Regions from separate parts of the Homo sapiens genome. Here regions 1, 2 and 4 are each linked to region 3. The links are contacts of gene promoters, found by promoter capture Hi-C in blood cells and fetal thymus (Javierre and others, 2016). All regions are on one chromosome and are shown on one strand. The core of a region is centred on a gene start or on the middle of the fragment in contact, and the rest is flanking DNA. Distances in the headings are between cores, read along the strand shown. Region 1 overlaps RNGTT (RNA guanylyltransferase and 5'-phosphatase). Region 2 overlaps RNGTT (RNA guanylyltransferase and 5'-phosphatase). Region 3 holds the start of C6orf163 (chromosome 6 open reading frame 163). Region 4 overlaps RNGTT (RNA guanylyltransferase and 5'-phosphatase).

What was found. The method cuts DNA at HindIII sites, captures the fragments that hold promoters and counts their contacts. A CHiCAGO score of 5 or more calls a contact.
Region 1: a contact is called between a fragment that was not itself captured here and the fragment with the promoter of C6orf163 in region 3, in 2 of 17 cell types (monocytes and naive B cells). The highest score is 5.2, in monocytes.
Region 2: a contact is called between a fragment that was not itself captured here and the fragment with the promoter of C6orf163 in region 3, in 1 of 17 cell types (naive B cells). The highest score is 6.1, in naive B cells.
Region 4: a fragment that was not itself captured here is called in contact with the fragment with the promoter of C6orf163 in region 3 in 1 of 17 cell types (total B cells); the score reaches 5.9 in total B cells.

Annotation. Positions count from the first base shown.
Region 1 is chr6:88,796,596-88,800,551 of GRCh38, reverse strand. The region is part of intron 12 of RNGTT (RNA guanylyltransferase and 5'-phosphatase); the gene reads left to right. Among named protein-coding and RNA genes, the nearest start is that of RNGTT, 170 kb to the left of the region's middle. The HindIII fragment of the contact is 4,929 bases long and covers 1-3,777 here.
Region 2 is chr6:88,890,179-88,893,701 of GRCh38, reverse strand. RNGTT (RNA guanylyltransferase and 5'-phosphatase) reads left to right here. Exons shown (of 16, transcript NM_003800.5): 7 at 1,787-1,896; 8 at 3,106-3,207. Among named protein-coding and RNA genes, the nearest start is that of RNGTT, 72 kb to the left of the region's middle. The HindIII fragment of the contact is 4,119 bases long and covers 1-3,523 here.
Region 3 is chr6:87,342,953-87,346,488 of GRCh38, reverse strand. It overlaps C6orf163 (chromosome 6 open reading frame 163), which reads right to left and starts at 1,676. Exons shown (of 5, transcript NM_001010868.3): 1 at 1,242-1,676. The coding sequence starts at 1,389. The HindIII fragment of the contact is 2,547 bases long and covers 1-1,707 here.
Region 4 is chr6:88,873,742-88,877,308 of GRCh38, reverse strand. The region is part of intron 8 of RNGTT (RNA guanylyltransferase and 5'-phosphatase); the gene reads left to right. Among named protein-coding and RNA genes, the nearest start is that of RNGTT, 88 kb to the left of the region's middle. The HindIII fragment of the contact is 1,701 bases long and covers 539-2,239 here.

The DNA.
Region 1 (3,956 bases), core at 64-2,563, 1.5 Mb before region 3:
ATCATATGCTGCTTTTTTTCTTCACCAACTCTTCTTTTAGTAATTAGAGTATAAGCTAGTTGAGAATTTATATATGGAGACATCAGACTGGGTGCCTGGGGTCAAAGAAAGGGAACTAATAATTTGAACACAGTGTATTAAATACTGTACAGGTTGAGTATCTCTAATTCAAAGACTGATATGCTATAAAATTTATAATGTTTTGAGCACCAGCATGATGCTCAAAGGAAATGCTCGTTGGAGCATTTTGGATTTTTGTATTAGGGATGCTCAACTGTTAAGTATATATAATGCAGATATTCCCCAATCTGAAAAAAATCAGAATCCAAACCACTTCTGGTCCTAAGCATTTCAGAGAAGGCATATTCAACCTATGCATGTAAAGCATTATATCTTTACGTGTGTAATAAATCTCTGCTAAAATGCAAATTTAGAGACAATGTGATATGTGATTGGCATCTGTCTGTCTTCTAGCCCCCCTTGCCAAACAAAGAACAGAAATATCTTCTGTGGTTAAGGGAGGAGGAGAGGGAGGAGGACATGGAGGAGCACTAGAGGTTAGGGACGGAAATGGAAGAAAATACTATTTTAGGAAAATTAAAGTTGAATCTTTTAGTTCTAATATATTCCAGTCTCCCTAGACTGAAAGAAGCAAAGTCTAAATATAACAATAAATTCAGAAAATTTCAGTGTGTGAAACTCATGGTTCAGATCTGTACATATATGGCATATGTAGGAAAAATGGCCTGACAAATAAGTGAGTCTCTTTCTTGGATGTCTAGTATAGGCAGTTGATTTGTCATTCCGTTCCCTTTCTAGTAACCATACTTTTTTTTTTTTTTTTTTTTTTTGAGATGGAGTTTTGCTCTTGTTGCCCAAGCTGAAGTGCAATGGCGCAATGTTGGCTCACTGCAACCTCTGCCTTCTGGGCTCAAGGGATTCTCCTGCCTCAGCCTCCTGAGTAGCTGGGATTGCAGGTGCGCACCACCATGCCCGGCTAATTTTTTGTATTTTTAGTAGAAACGGAGTTTCACCATGTTAGCCAGGCTGGTATTGAACTCCTGATCTCAGGTGATCCGCCTACCTTGGCCTCCCAAAGTGCTGGGATTACAGGTGTGAGCCACCGCGCCGGGCCGTAACCACACTTTTTATTACAATGACTTTGTAATTGATATCTGGTATTAAGTCAAGTCTCCCTGTTCGCCAGCATTACCTTAAATATTTGTTGACAATTGGTTTAACGTGAAAGTTTCAGAATCAATTTGTCATGCTACCCAGAAATTTTTGTTAGGAGTTTAATTGGAACATCTTTGAATTTAGATTAACGTGGAGAAAATTGATGTGTTTGCAATGTTAAATCACTTTCTCAATGAATGCTATGGCTTTTTTTTTTCAGGTCTTTTTCTGTTCTGTAACTGAGTTTAAGTTTTTTATTATTGTTATGGTAACTTCTAAATATTTGTCATTTTCTGCTTTTGTGGTAAATTGTGTCTTTTTTTATTGCTACTTCTAGTACACTGCCACATTATTGATTTATTTTATTGATTCAACAATCCTGTTGAATTCTGTTAGTTCTCATCATTGTCTAATTTTACACATTGACCAGGACCTCTAGTATTGAATTAAGTATTAGTTCTAGTTAGATAAGGGAGAAGACATTTATACCTTCTTCTCAACCTCAAAGGGAATGTAACTAAATTTTCTCCATTAAGTATGTTTGTGGTAGATTTCTGTTAGATATCCTTTATTGTGTTAAGAAATTTCTGATTCTGTTCTTCCAATAATTCTTTTTAAAATCATAAACAGGTTTTGGGCTTTAACACCTTTTAAAGCATTAATTTTAAGGCAGTAATGCCTCTTCGGTATCTACTAAGGTTATCATGTCATTTTCATTTTTACACCATTTATGTAGTAAATTACACTGATTTTTCTCATGTTGACCCATCCTTGCATTCCTGGGATAAATGCTACTTGATCATGATATATATAATTTTTTAAGCATACTTTTGGATCTAGGTATAATTGCTTCTTGAGGATTTCTGCCACCTTATTTCTTACAGTTCATTTTTCTCTCTTTTTTTTTTTTTGAGACAGGGTCTCACTTTGTTGCCCAGGCTGGTGTGCAGTGGCACAAACATGGCTTACTGCAGCCTCGACCTCCTGGGTTCAAGCAATCCTCGCACTTCAGGTCCCCAAGTAGCTGGGACTATAGGCGCGCACCACCACGCCTTGCTAATTTTTGTATTTTTCGTAGATACGGGGTTTTGCCTTGTTGCCGAGGCTGGTCTAAAGCTCCTGAGCTCAAGCAATCCGCCTGCCTCAGCCTCGCAAAGTGCTGGGATTACAGGTATGAGCCACTGTACCCGGCCAATTTTTCTCATTTTTTATATTCAGAATAATGAAGGTAATATTTTTTATTGTTGAAAAAATTATGTAAGTTGCACATAATCCATGGTAATGCCTATCCATGATTTAAAAAAACCAATTAAATGAGTGATTTGTGCTGAAAAATAGAACAGTCTCTTACCAAACAGTCTCTTACCTTTTTCTGCACTCTGAGTACTACTCCTAGGAGGCAATTATTTTCCTCTTTTTTTTTTTTTTTTTTTTGGCTTTTGCTTCTACAGTTCTACACAGTCTATGCTGTTCTTTTTTGGTTTTGTATTTTATACATAATCTGCTTACTTTGTACTGTGGAAGAATAGGATTGAGCCCTCTAATTCCACTAACCCCCTCCACACCCCTTTCTCCTTCTGTCATTCTATTGTAATTACATCACATATTTGGTCAAATTAATATTCAATTTTTATATTTTTATGGTGACATAAATATTGTTCCTATCTGGGTCAAATAGTATACAATTGTATTTTCTTTTTTTAGAAAAGTCTTGTCATCTAGCATTAGGAATATTTTTGGTTATTATAATTATTAATATTTCTTTCTTTAAACTCTCCAAAAGAACTGTTTACTTTTTATCAATGCAGTCAAATATATAAGGTCCATTTTTCATTTGAAGGCATTCTTTCTGAAGCCTTCCATTCTTTAGTCCTGCTGCATAGCCTTTTCTTCTTAGAGTTTCTTTTCACTATTTCATCCAGGAAATCCCTTTTACCTTTCTTCTCTGATAGATTTCCCTACTTTTTTGACTTTATCTTTTCTGCTTTTTTGATTTGAGTGATCTTGAAAACCTAATGCTGTACAAACTGGTCCTTATACTTATGGAGCTTTTGTTTCAGCTGTAAACTGAACATGTTATTTTCAGTGGTCTCTAATCTGTTCTACAATTTTATGGCTCTGACTTAGCCCCAAATTTTTTATTGTGTTTGTGTAGTTCTGTGCAACTTGGTATAATCTTGATTATCTCGTAATAAATCAAGCCTCCCTGTTTGCCAGGACGTTCTTAAATATTTGCAGACATTTTGTTTAACACGTAAGTTTCAGAATCTGTATGTCATGTTACCCAGCAATTTTTATTAGGAGTTTAATTGGAGTGCCTTTGAATTTAGATTAATTTGGAGAAAATTAATGTGTTTGCAATATTAAATCATCTTCTTATATATACTAGAGAATTAGGGAAAAGGTGCAATAAACCGTAGCTCAGGACTACCTGTCTAAATGTCAGAAATTTCCAGAAGTTTTAGATCTACTCTTAGTTTACATATTCAATTTTGTATTTTTAAAAACTTTATCTCGTAAGTTATAACTGATAGCAATATTAGACAATAGAACTAAAAAGGAGAGAGTAGTTGTACTCAAATTCTGTATTTGTAATAAGCTTCCTAAGACACTGGCTTTCTCAGCCTCTTCCACCTTTTGGATGGCTGTCTTTATACTTGTCTTCTAAGGTAGTTCTATCCCCCTTTCCTTCTCTTCATAGAGAAAAGTGTATTTTTTATGGCTATAGCTGTTTTGGTTAAATCAACCTTTAACCCATGCCTTTTGTTTTGCTTCTAGTA
Region 2 (3,523 bases), core at 370-2,869, 1.5 Mb before region 3:
ACAGACATTTACTAGGTGATTGGGGTTAACTTTTATAACCAGACTCAGTAGTTGTTAGATCTGTACTGATGCTCAGTATTTATTGGCTCTGTTAAATTAAAAATATTCAGCTTTTTCAACCCCATAGAAATGTTATTAAAATATTTCTGTGGTAATATTGTGGGAAAGTGCTTGGTTGAATGTGATCATATTTTCTATGTGTTAGTCCTTTTTATTATATGTTAAAAATATAAATAGTGTTTGTGTTTTTAGTAGTAACTTAGGTTAATTTGGCCTTTGCTTTTATTTTGCCCATTTCAGAAGTTAATGTAAATTTCTTAACTTTGCATAGGAAATCCACGTTGATAAATGAAGCTAGAGACTTTCTTTGTGTAAAACTTAAAAAGAACATCTCATGCTGTTAATACCATCAGAATTAGGATGCTTAATATTGAACTCTCTAAAAAGAAGTGTTCTTTTTTAATTAGCATAAGAAACAATTTTTTAAGGATATTGAAATTATCTGAGCACTCAATAAGTAAATATGTTACAAACCTCATCTATCTGGTTGAGCTTTCTTTTAAAAATACTCTTTTTTTCCTTTAGCTGTTGTACTTAATGATAAAAATGGTTTTAAACAGAAATGCCATTGGCTAGTACAGAGAAATAATGGTATAATAGTAGAGGGATGGTACTCTTTGATCCTTGGGCTTATGAAATTCCTAAATTTTGGTTATTTAAGGAAAGCAAAGTAGAAGACAGATAAGTACAAAAAGTGCTTCAAAATTAGGGACAAAAAGTAGGACTAGTGTCTGCTGGAAGGACTCAGGATTCTTCCAGATTTGACAAGAATGTATGTGGATGAAGTATTAATTGTTCTTTTTTTCTTTTCTCAAGTGGCTCAGATTGCCAGGTCTTTGCCAGAAGGTTGAACGTTGTAGCTTGTAGACTAACTTTTTTATTGCCTAATTACATTAACAGCTAGAATTGTTTTATAGATTTTTCTTAAGACTGATGCCAGTCCCTTTATGGACCTTAAAAGAACTGTAGCATACATCTAGACTATTTTTTTTAGGTTTAAAAATTTCCAGAAGGGTTCCTTATTTGTTTGATATTCTCTGTCTGCTTTACTTCGCTGTGATATTTCAAAATATGTAGTTCTGAGTTAAAAAATTTAGATTAAAAATTCCATGATGAGTAATATTTTGTTCTATTAGTATGTTAATATATCCAATGACTGTGGCTTAGCCACTTTGCCTACACTCTTACTCTGGTTTACAAAGATAGAGGTTTTGGTGTTTATCCCCTTAAAGTCCATACTTCATTCATAGTAACACAGCTCCTTTCCCCTTCTCTCCATTGGTGGTTGGTATAGTGTAGGCCTGTTCAAATTCTGTCTTTTACCACTTGATTTACATAAAATCTTTGTGCCTTATTTACTCATCTTTGAAATAAATACAGTACAGTCTATTTTTTCAGTGTTGTAAGGATTAGAGAGAATGTTTGCAAGATGCCAGACATTCTGCTTGGATCTCAATAAATGGTAGATAAATTATTATTACTGTTATGATTTGAGAAGTGCCTATAGAGTACATACGTATATTGAAGAAAACCATGTGCTGGATTTAGGAAAACTAGTGTACAATCTTAGGGGAGTTTATACAGCAGACCGTTTCTGTTAGATATATTGACTTGCTAAGATTTGTGAGAACAAACTAATTTATCTCTCAGTCTCTTCTTTGTAAATGAATTTGAACTCTAATAAAATATTTTTCTTTCCCTTATTTTTCTTATTTTTTTTTTAAAGGGCGCTATTTTCTTGGAAGGTGTTACTGTTAAAGGTGTAACTCAAGTAACAACACAACCAAAGTTAGGAGAGGTACAGCAGAAGTGTCATCAATTCTGTGGCTGGGAAGGGTAATAAATATTTTTAAATTTTTAAATAAAATTTGCTCTTATTTTACAACACTTAATACAAGCATTGACATATCTTCTTGGCTCCTTGAAGTTAGTATGTTTGCAATAGAATACTTTAAAGGTGTCAGATTTCGTTCAAGACAATCAATGCAATAACCAGACAGTTGAGTCAAAATTAGATGACTCACATATTTTCCTAAAGTAATAGAAAATTCTTGTTTTCACTGTCTAGTATTTGTTTCGTGTCTTTGACTCTACTGCTACTGATTAATGTTTGAGCTAGTCTCTCAATTTGATAAGAGGGAAGAGGTGAAATTTGGATCTGCCTCATTTTCCAGTTTTTCTGTAATCAGAAGTCTAGGAAAATCAGCTTTAAATATAAGCAGTGAATGCCATGACTTGAAAATATCTTTCAGACATTTCGTAGTGGATTCAGGAGAGCATACATTGCTCTTATCTGTTGCTCTCAGGTCTTGGCCTGTGGTCATTTCTGCTGATCATTGGTATCTGTGGCAGAGAACTGTAATACAGTTGAATGTAAGGAAAAAGGATTATTGTTAATTCCTAATATAAATTCCTAATGAAAAGAACTTTTATTACTGTTACATAAATACTAGATAAATCATCTAGAAGTAGTTTTAACTAAAATATGAAAACAATGAAGAAATAAGATCGGTTTTAATGTTGTGTTAAACCTTAATCTTGACCTACACCCTTGGTTTTAATGTTGTGTTAAGCCTTAATCTTGACCCATATTTCTCCTGTTTTGTCACTTCTGGGTATCTTTTGAGGAGAAAGTTGCCAACCTTGCAGTTATGTCAAGTTGGCAGTCTCACGTTGGGGAAATATGGGGTCTAGAATATCATGTAAAGTAATTAAGCCAAGATTTAAACTTCTTCCTGAAGTACAAGACTTGTAAACATACCTGCTTTACTATTTAGATCATATATACTAATATTTTAAAATTAGCTCAGTGATTATACCATAGCAGTGGTAATTTAGAACTCTGTTAACTTGCATTCTAAAATGTCAAGAAAATGATAATCTTTTATTAGTATTTTTGTGAAAGCGGATGTTATTCCAGCTGACATTAATCTCATCATAGGGAGAACATTGTGATAAATGTGTGATTCATTTGAGATTGGTTTAAGACATGTATTGCTTTGTATGGATACCAGCCACGATAGTAATACTGTGTTCTTCTTTAAGGTCTGGATTCCCTGGAGCACAGCCTGTTTCCATGGACAAGCAAAATATTAAACTTTTAGACCTGAAGCCATACAAAGTAAGCTGGAAAGCAGATGGTACTCGGTAAGTTAGACTTCTAAAAAAATTACACAAATAACCCTAATGCTTGAAGAATATTGTTTTATTGTTAGAAAAGTTTACACTCTTGAGAGTGTGAATTTCTAATGTGAATAGCAAAATAAATGTTTCAAAAATTATATATTTTTGGTTTTGCTAGTGTTCTAAGCTGTATAGCACAAGTTATCTCTCATTCTGCTAAATTTTTGGTTTCAGAGCTTAGCTAGTTTAACATAAATCTATAACTAGATGTTAAGTTTGAAAGTGTTTTTCTCTTAATGATATGGTTTTTGGTATGTCTGCTGCCCACTGCCTTGTTTTT
Region 3 (3,536 bases), core at 427-2,926:
AGGTTTGGGTTAGATATTCCATAAGGCATAAGGAATCAATCATTAAGGTATATCTAAGAATGGAGATACACTGTCCTGGGTATGAAAAGTCACTTTAGAGATCATAATGAATCATTCATACTAAGCACTTACTAAATGCTAAGAAACAATTTTGGAATTGATGTTTTTAGAAGATGATTCCAATTTGATCTCCCCCTACATTTTAGTTTTTTTTTCCAAACACCTCTGCTCTCCAGCTTCTTATATTTTCAAATATCAGGAGTGAAATGAAATCACCCTTAGTTTACCATTTTAAAGGAAGAGAGGATCAGAGAAGTATTGTGAGAGTTCTTAGGAAAATACCTACAAGGCTCAAGGTCAGACTGAAAACTCTTACGGGGATAAAAGAGAGATGGAAACCTATAGTACAATTTGATTTGCTTATTATATATACATACGTATGTACAGTAAACGTCCTCATGTTATCTATATGTATCTACTTTTATGCTACCAGCTACTATTTAAAGGTTATATAGTTTCTTTTACCCATTTATTAGGGTACTTTAAAATTTTTTTTTTTTTTTTTTTTTTTTGAGGCAGAGTCTCGCTCTGTCACCCAGGCTAGAGTGCAGTAGCACGATCTCAGCTCACTGCAACCTCCACCTCCTGGGTTCAAGCAATTTTCTTACCTCAGCCTCCCGAGTAGCTGGGATTACAGGCGCATGCCACCATGCCTGCTTAAATTTTTTTAGTAGAGACGGGGTTTCGCCATGTTGGCCAGGCTGGTCTTGAACTCTTGGCCTCAAGTGATCTGCCCACCTCGACCACCCAAAGTGCTGGGATTACAGGTGTGAGCCACTGTGCCCATCCAATTAGGGTGTTATTTAGAGATAATATTTCCTCTCCTACACATACTGAAAGGTGCTCAAGTATGGCCAAGGGCAAAATGAACTCACATTTACTATTATGTGCCAGGATTTATAATAGATACAAATACTTCATTAAAGTCTCATAACAACCTGTAAGATAGGTATTAGTATATTTATTTCCACATAAGGAAACAGATTGAGAGGCTAAATACCCTGCCCAATACATACAACTGTAAGTGGAGAAGCTGTATTCCAACCCATATTCTCCTCAAATATCCCTGTAGGGACAAGCAACTCTGAAGAGAAAAAAGCTGATAAAAGTCTATGTAACAGAAAGAATGACACATAAGGCTATGAAGCATTAGAACAAAGGAAAACGATAAAGTCACTTACCTAGTATGTCTTTGTGAGTGTAAAAGCGTGTCTTAAGTGGCTTGTATTCATGGATCCGTTTGAAGGTTTTTCCAAAAGGGGCTGGTGGAATTATTTTATTACAAACAGCACAGCAAACAAAGTTTTTGTAATCTGAATTTCTGATCATAGTTAAATTTCAGATGTCTTCTCCTACTTACAGTTAAAATAATCTTAGAATCAGAAAAAGTCGTTTCAAGAAAAGCTGAAAGTTTAAGAAAGCTGGAAGAGGTTCAGGGTTTTAGGATAATGCTAGAGGCTGGTAAGGATTAAATGGTTCAAGTGATTAGGCTGTGGTTATGTGTCTAACGTTAAAGAATGGTGCTAAAAGCCCCTGCCATAGAAGGTATGGGCACCAGATTTGGGAAGATTTAAGTAGTTGCTCCTTCCCAGACTCTAGCATTAAGTTGTTAACTTACTTGGCAACTGTTGCTAGGTAAGACAAGCTTTGCTCATAAAAGCAACTTCAAATAATGACAAAAGGGAGCATGATACAGCCATTCATTTTCCTGATACTTTCTATATTAGTTTCCTATTGCTGCTGTCTTACTCTGTTTTCTGTTGCTTATAATAGAATACCTGAAACTGGATAGCTTATAAAGAAAATGAAATTATTTCTTACAGTTTATGGAGGCTGAGAAGTCCAAGGTGGAGGAGTTGCATCAGGTAAGAATCTTCTTGGTGGTGGGAACTCACTGAAGATTCCTGAGGTGGTATAGGGTATGACATGGCCAGGGGCTGAGCTCACATGCTAGCTCAGGCCTCTCTTCCTCTTCTTATAAAACCACCAGTTCTCCTCCCATGATAATCCATCAATCCCTTAACCCATGAATGAATTCACTCACCCCTTAAAGGCCCCACTTCTCAATACTACCACGTTGGGGATTAAAGTTCAACATGAGTTTTGCAGGGGACAAATATTCAAACCATAGCACCACTGTGACAAACTACACAAACTTCATAGTTTAAATGTAACACAAATTTATCCTCTTGCATTTCTGGAGATCAGAAGTCTAAAATGAGTCTTAGGGGCTAAAATCAAGTTGTTAGAAGGGCTGGTTCCTTCTGCAGGCTTCAGAGGAGAATGTGTTTGCTTGCCTTTTCCAGCTTCTAAAGGCCATCCATATTCCTTGGGGTCATGGCCTTGCATCATATAGCCTTTTCCCCCAGTGCTTCCATAGTGACATTGTCTCTTCCTCTGATCTTCTGCCGTGCTTTAAAGACCTTGGTGATTATACCAGCCCCATCTAGATAATCCAGGATAATCTCCCCATCTCAAAATCCTAAACTTACCCATATCCGTAAAGTCCCATATTTACAGGTTCCAGAGATTAGGATCTGGACATTTTTGCAGGGAAGGAGAGCATTAGTCAGCCTACCACACTTTGTTTTAAATTAGTTTTTAAAGAATTAATTTCTTTTAAGGCCAGCAATGGAGGTAGCTTAATTTCTTTTAGGTTTTTAATAAACATGATGTGTTGGTGCCATGGTAATAAAACTGGGAAATATCATGGTATCTTGAAGAAGAAATTACTTTCATTAAGGCAGCATTCAAAATTACTAAGCCTGGTTTTAAAAATCACATGGTTAACTAATTTGTTCCTATAATTTTAGATAAACAGCCATAGAAATTCCACCTATCGCAAAAATCTGTGCAACTGATTGTACCAAGTAACTGAATTTATAAAATTGCCTGACAATGTCATATGCTGCATCTACTTGGCAGGACTATTTTATAATAAGTGAGTGCCATCAGTGAAATTAATTTCAACAACAGGACTCCCATAGGGCCCTGAGCTAAGTGTACCACAAGTTACTCTATAATTTATATTAACACATACGGCCTGATAACTGGCTGAAGACCTTAAGTAACTATCAAATTGTGCCAGATTTGACTTCAAGAAAAGGGTTAACTGGGACTTGGAGAGGAATTAAAAACAAAGAGATGAATTAGTATGAAGAATGAGGATTACTGCATCCACACAGTTAATTATCTGGATTGAGAACTGAGGCTACTTGTGCCAATAACTTTCCTATCTGTTACTAGAAATTCTTGCCCAGATGGAAGGATAACTAACTGGCCTTGATTTGCCTGGGACTGTCCCTGTTTTAAAACTGAAAGTCCTGAACTTCCTTAGTGTCTGGCAAATTGGAAGAGTTGGGCCTCCTATGGAAGATAAGGCTGTAAAACCAATAAATACTTTCAGTGTTTGCCTTAGGAAATCCTTGAAAAACAATTTATCAATTGGACAGCTTGCTGATCTAGGCAAACAGCTC
Region 4 (3,567 bases), core at 140-2,639, 1.5 Mb before region 3:
TGAGAATTTCTCTGTTAGTTGGTGGAGACCCACATAAAATGCTTATTATACAGCACTCAATGCATATTAGTTATTGTTGTTATAACTGAAGACTGTTTTGAAAACCATTATTACATGAGAACCAACATTGATTTCCCAGAGTTCACTCAGAATTCTTTTAGGGTGTGGTATAGTTATTGCACAAGAAGAAAATTAAGCAAAGGCAAAACAATCTAACATTTTAAAACCAAATCTTTGAAATACCCATTGGTTAGTAGTCACATCTTTAGGATTTACTAAAGGATAAAAAGGTCCCTTAAATAGCAGTTTCTTTAATCAAATCCTAAGTATGAGAGTTACTACTAGTTAATAGAGATACTGTCTTTGAAATGGTATTTAAAAATAAAAACCAACCAAATTTATTACCTATTACCAAAATCTGCTAGAGAACTCTTAGAGCTGAGCAGATACAGATAAAACTTTGATTGCAAACATAGGTGCAACCCTAACTCAGAATTTTCAGTTGGCCAGGTTCTGGGGGCAGCAAACATGTGAAGCTTTGAAAGATTAAAACAAATGAATTTTTCGTTAATATTTTCAAACATTTTTTCCCCTATATAGAGCTGGGCTACTGGACCCAAACAAATGAGAAACAAGGAATACAGGATAAAGAGATTGAATTTGTCTCTTTGTTCATTCATGTAGTTAACAAATATTTATTGAACATTTACCATATGCCAGAGATTGTGCTAGCTATGATAGGCTTAGCAGGTAATTAGAACTAAACTATATGATGATGATGATGATTGTTTTTTGAGACAGGGTCTCACTGTTTTGCCTAGGCTGGAGTGGAGTGGCACACTCATGCCTCACTGCAGCCTCGACCTCCCACCTCAGCCTCCAGAGTAGCTGGGACTATAGGCGCGTGCCGCCACACCCAACTAATTTTTGTCTTTTTTTTGTTGTTGAGATAGGGTTTCCCCGTGTTGTCCAGGCTGGTCTCAAACTCCTGGGCTAAAGTGATCTGCCTGCCTTGGCCTCCCAAAGTGTTGGGATTACAGGCCTGAGCCACAATACTCAGGCATGATTATTTTTGTATGCTGCTTTTTATCTTAACATGAGTATATTTCATTGTTATAACATGTATTTTTAAAATGACTTAATTGCTGCCAAGAAAAAATAGTTCACCCTCGATTATAGGGGCATTTAGACTCCAGTTTTTTTGTTGCTATAAATAACTGTACTGATCTTCTTATACCCATCTTTGCATAAATTTTGACAAAAATAGTATTACTTAGATATAGTATGGAAACCTTTGAAGTCCTTGATATACCTTGCTAGAGGTTGTAGTGATACACTCCGAACAGCAGTGCTTGAGTGTACATCCTTGGCAATTTGGGGTAGTTTCACTTAATATAAGTAATGTAGCCAAGTTGACAATTGGAAAATGAATTTTTTTCTTAAAAGATTTTATTGATGTAAAAATTAAAGGAAAATGAATTTTAAAATTGCTTTGATTAGCAGTTTTTTTTGAATACTAGTGTGGTTGCACAAGTTCATTCTGTATTTTGGCTATAGCAACAGTTATAACAAGTAATACTTGTTGAACACTTAATGTGTATTAGGCATTGTTCTGAGTACTTTACATAGAACATTTATCTCATTTAATACTCACAACGCTGTAAGATAGCATTGTGAATAAGTAGCTTTTTCAAGGTCACAGACACAGTTATTGTAAGTAGCAGGACTGAGATTTGAATGCAAGTGATCTGGCCCCAGAGCCCAGAATCCTTTTTGCCAGGTCATGTCCTCATTATTTTTTCAATATTTTGATAGTTATTTTTACTGTTTTATGCTAATAGATGAATTTTTCTGTCTTAAAATATATTTTTTCTGATAATGTCTTCTGTCTTCCTCATAAAACATTAAAAAGAAATTAAAAAGTTCTCCCTGTGAGAACTTTTATCCCACCCCTTGGGATAATCAATATTAAGAGTTGGATGTTTGGTTTCTCGAGACATTATACCTTCATCTTCTTACCTGCTGTTTTCTTTCCTTACTTTCTGATCCTCCATATAATGGGATATGATATAGGCTGTTCTCTTATAAATAAATAATAGAAAAACTCTATTATTTTTTTTTCAAATTGCTTTGTGATGGTAATTCAAATTGCATTGCTCCTTTCACTTAATGGGATAATAAATATATTTGCAGACAATATTTACTGCTTTAATAGATAACTGTTAAGCTACTGTAAGCTTTAGAAGGTCTCAAAGACAATACAAGACACTAGAGGAAAGTAAAAGTACAATTCCTACTCTCAGCAGGAAAATGAAGTACAATTTAAGATGTAGTAAGAGATATAACAAAACTATGTATAGTACCAGACAACTAAGTAAGAGATACTAAAGAGCTAATAAAGAGCATTACTTGATACTGTATATGAAATATGACTGCTTGTTTTGATTTTAAGAGTGTGATATTGGGTGTTCATAGATGGATTTTTAAATTTTATATAGGAAATAAGTAAGATATATTTAGTATTGAATATTGATATTTAGTATTGAGTAGTGCTGCTGACCAGATGGAAGAACATTTGCTTTGACCCATCTCAGCAGTAGAGCTTATCTGTTAGATGAGGTGTTAACTGGATTTTCATATTTTTTTTTTTTACGATTCTGTGATACTTTCTTAACTCATTATTTGCTCACATACTCTTATTCATTATGTGTGATTATGGAAGTGGCAAATGCTGGCTTGGATAAAAAAGGGGAAAAAACTTTATCCTCTTTGTGAATCTGTGAAAAATTGTTTGAAATAATTATAGTTGATTTTTCTAGAATGCATGCTTTATACAAAAGAAAACTGAAAGTAATCAGCGAGTCAGGGACAAATGTAAAATAAAACTTTTGGGAAAATTCTTTTGATCTTTTCTTTTCATGAAGATGGATTACTTTATAAAAATTAAAATGTTGTTTACATGCCTCTGTGATAGGTAGTGCTGCCCAGAATACGTTAAGTGGCTTTTAAATTTTATTCCATATCAAGGTAAATCTTTAGAGCAATAAATGTGGCATACCCTGATGGAAGATCACTTAAAAGAATGCTGTATTTTACATATTTAACTTGTATTGCTACAGAGTTCTGAAAAGCATAACCTGTTACATAAATGGTAATTAATGCAAATGAGTATATCATTTGATTTTACACTTTGAAGTCTAATGAAGACACTGTACATTCTCATTATGAGAGCTACTTAATCTGAAAGTAACTAATTAAAATAACCAAGAGAGGCTTCTTATATACAGAACTGGTTGATTCATGAGATTTATTTACTAGTATTGGAACCAATTACCTGATCTGTGCTACGAATAATAAGTTTGCAGTGTCCTGTTATTTTGCAAGCTTTTCAAATTCTCTTAATTAGGTCAAGATCAATGAGTATGTCTATATCTTACTAAACCTATCTTATTATTAATGGTAGTAGTTGAAACTTTTTCTAACTTGGACTTGATAAGCATTTTAGTAAAAATTTCTTTTTTGCCTTGTGATTCTGGTCTTATAATGAAAAAATGATAATGTCTTAAA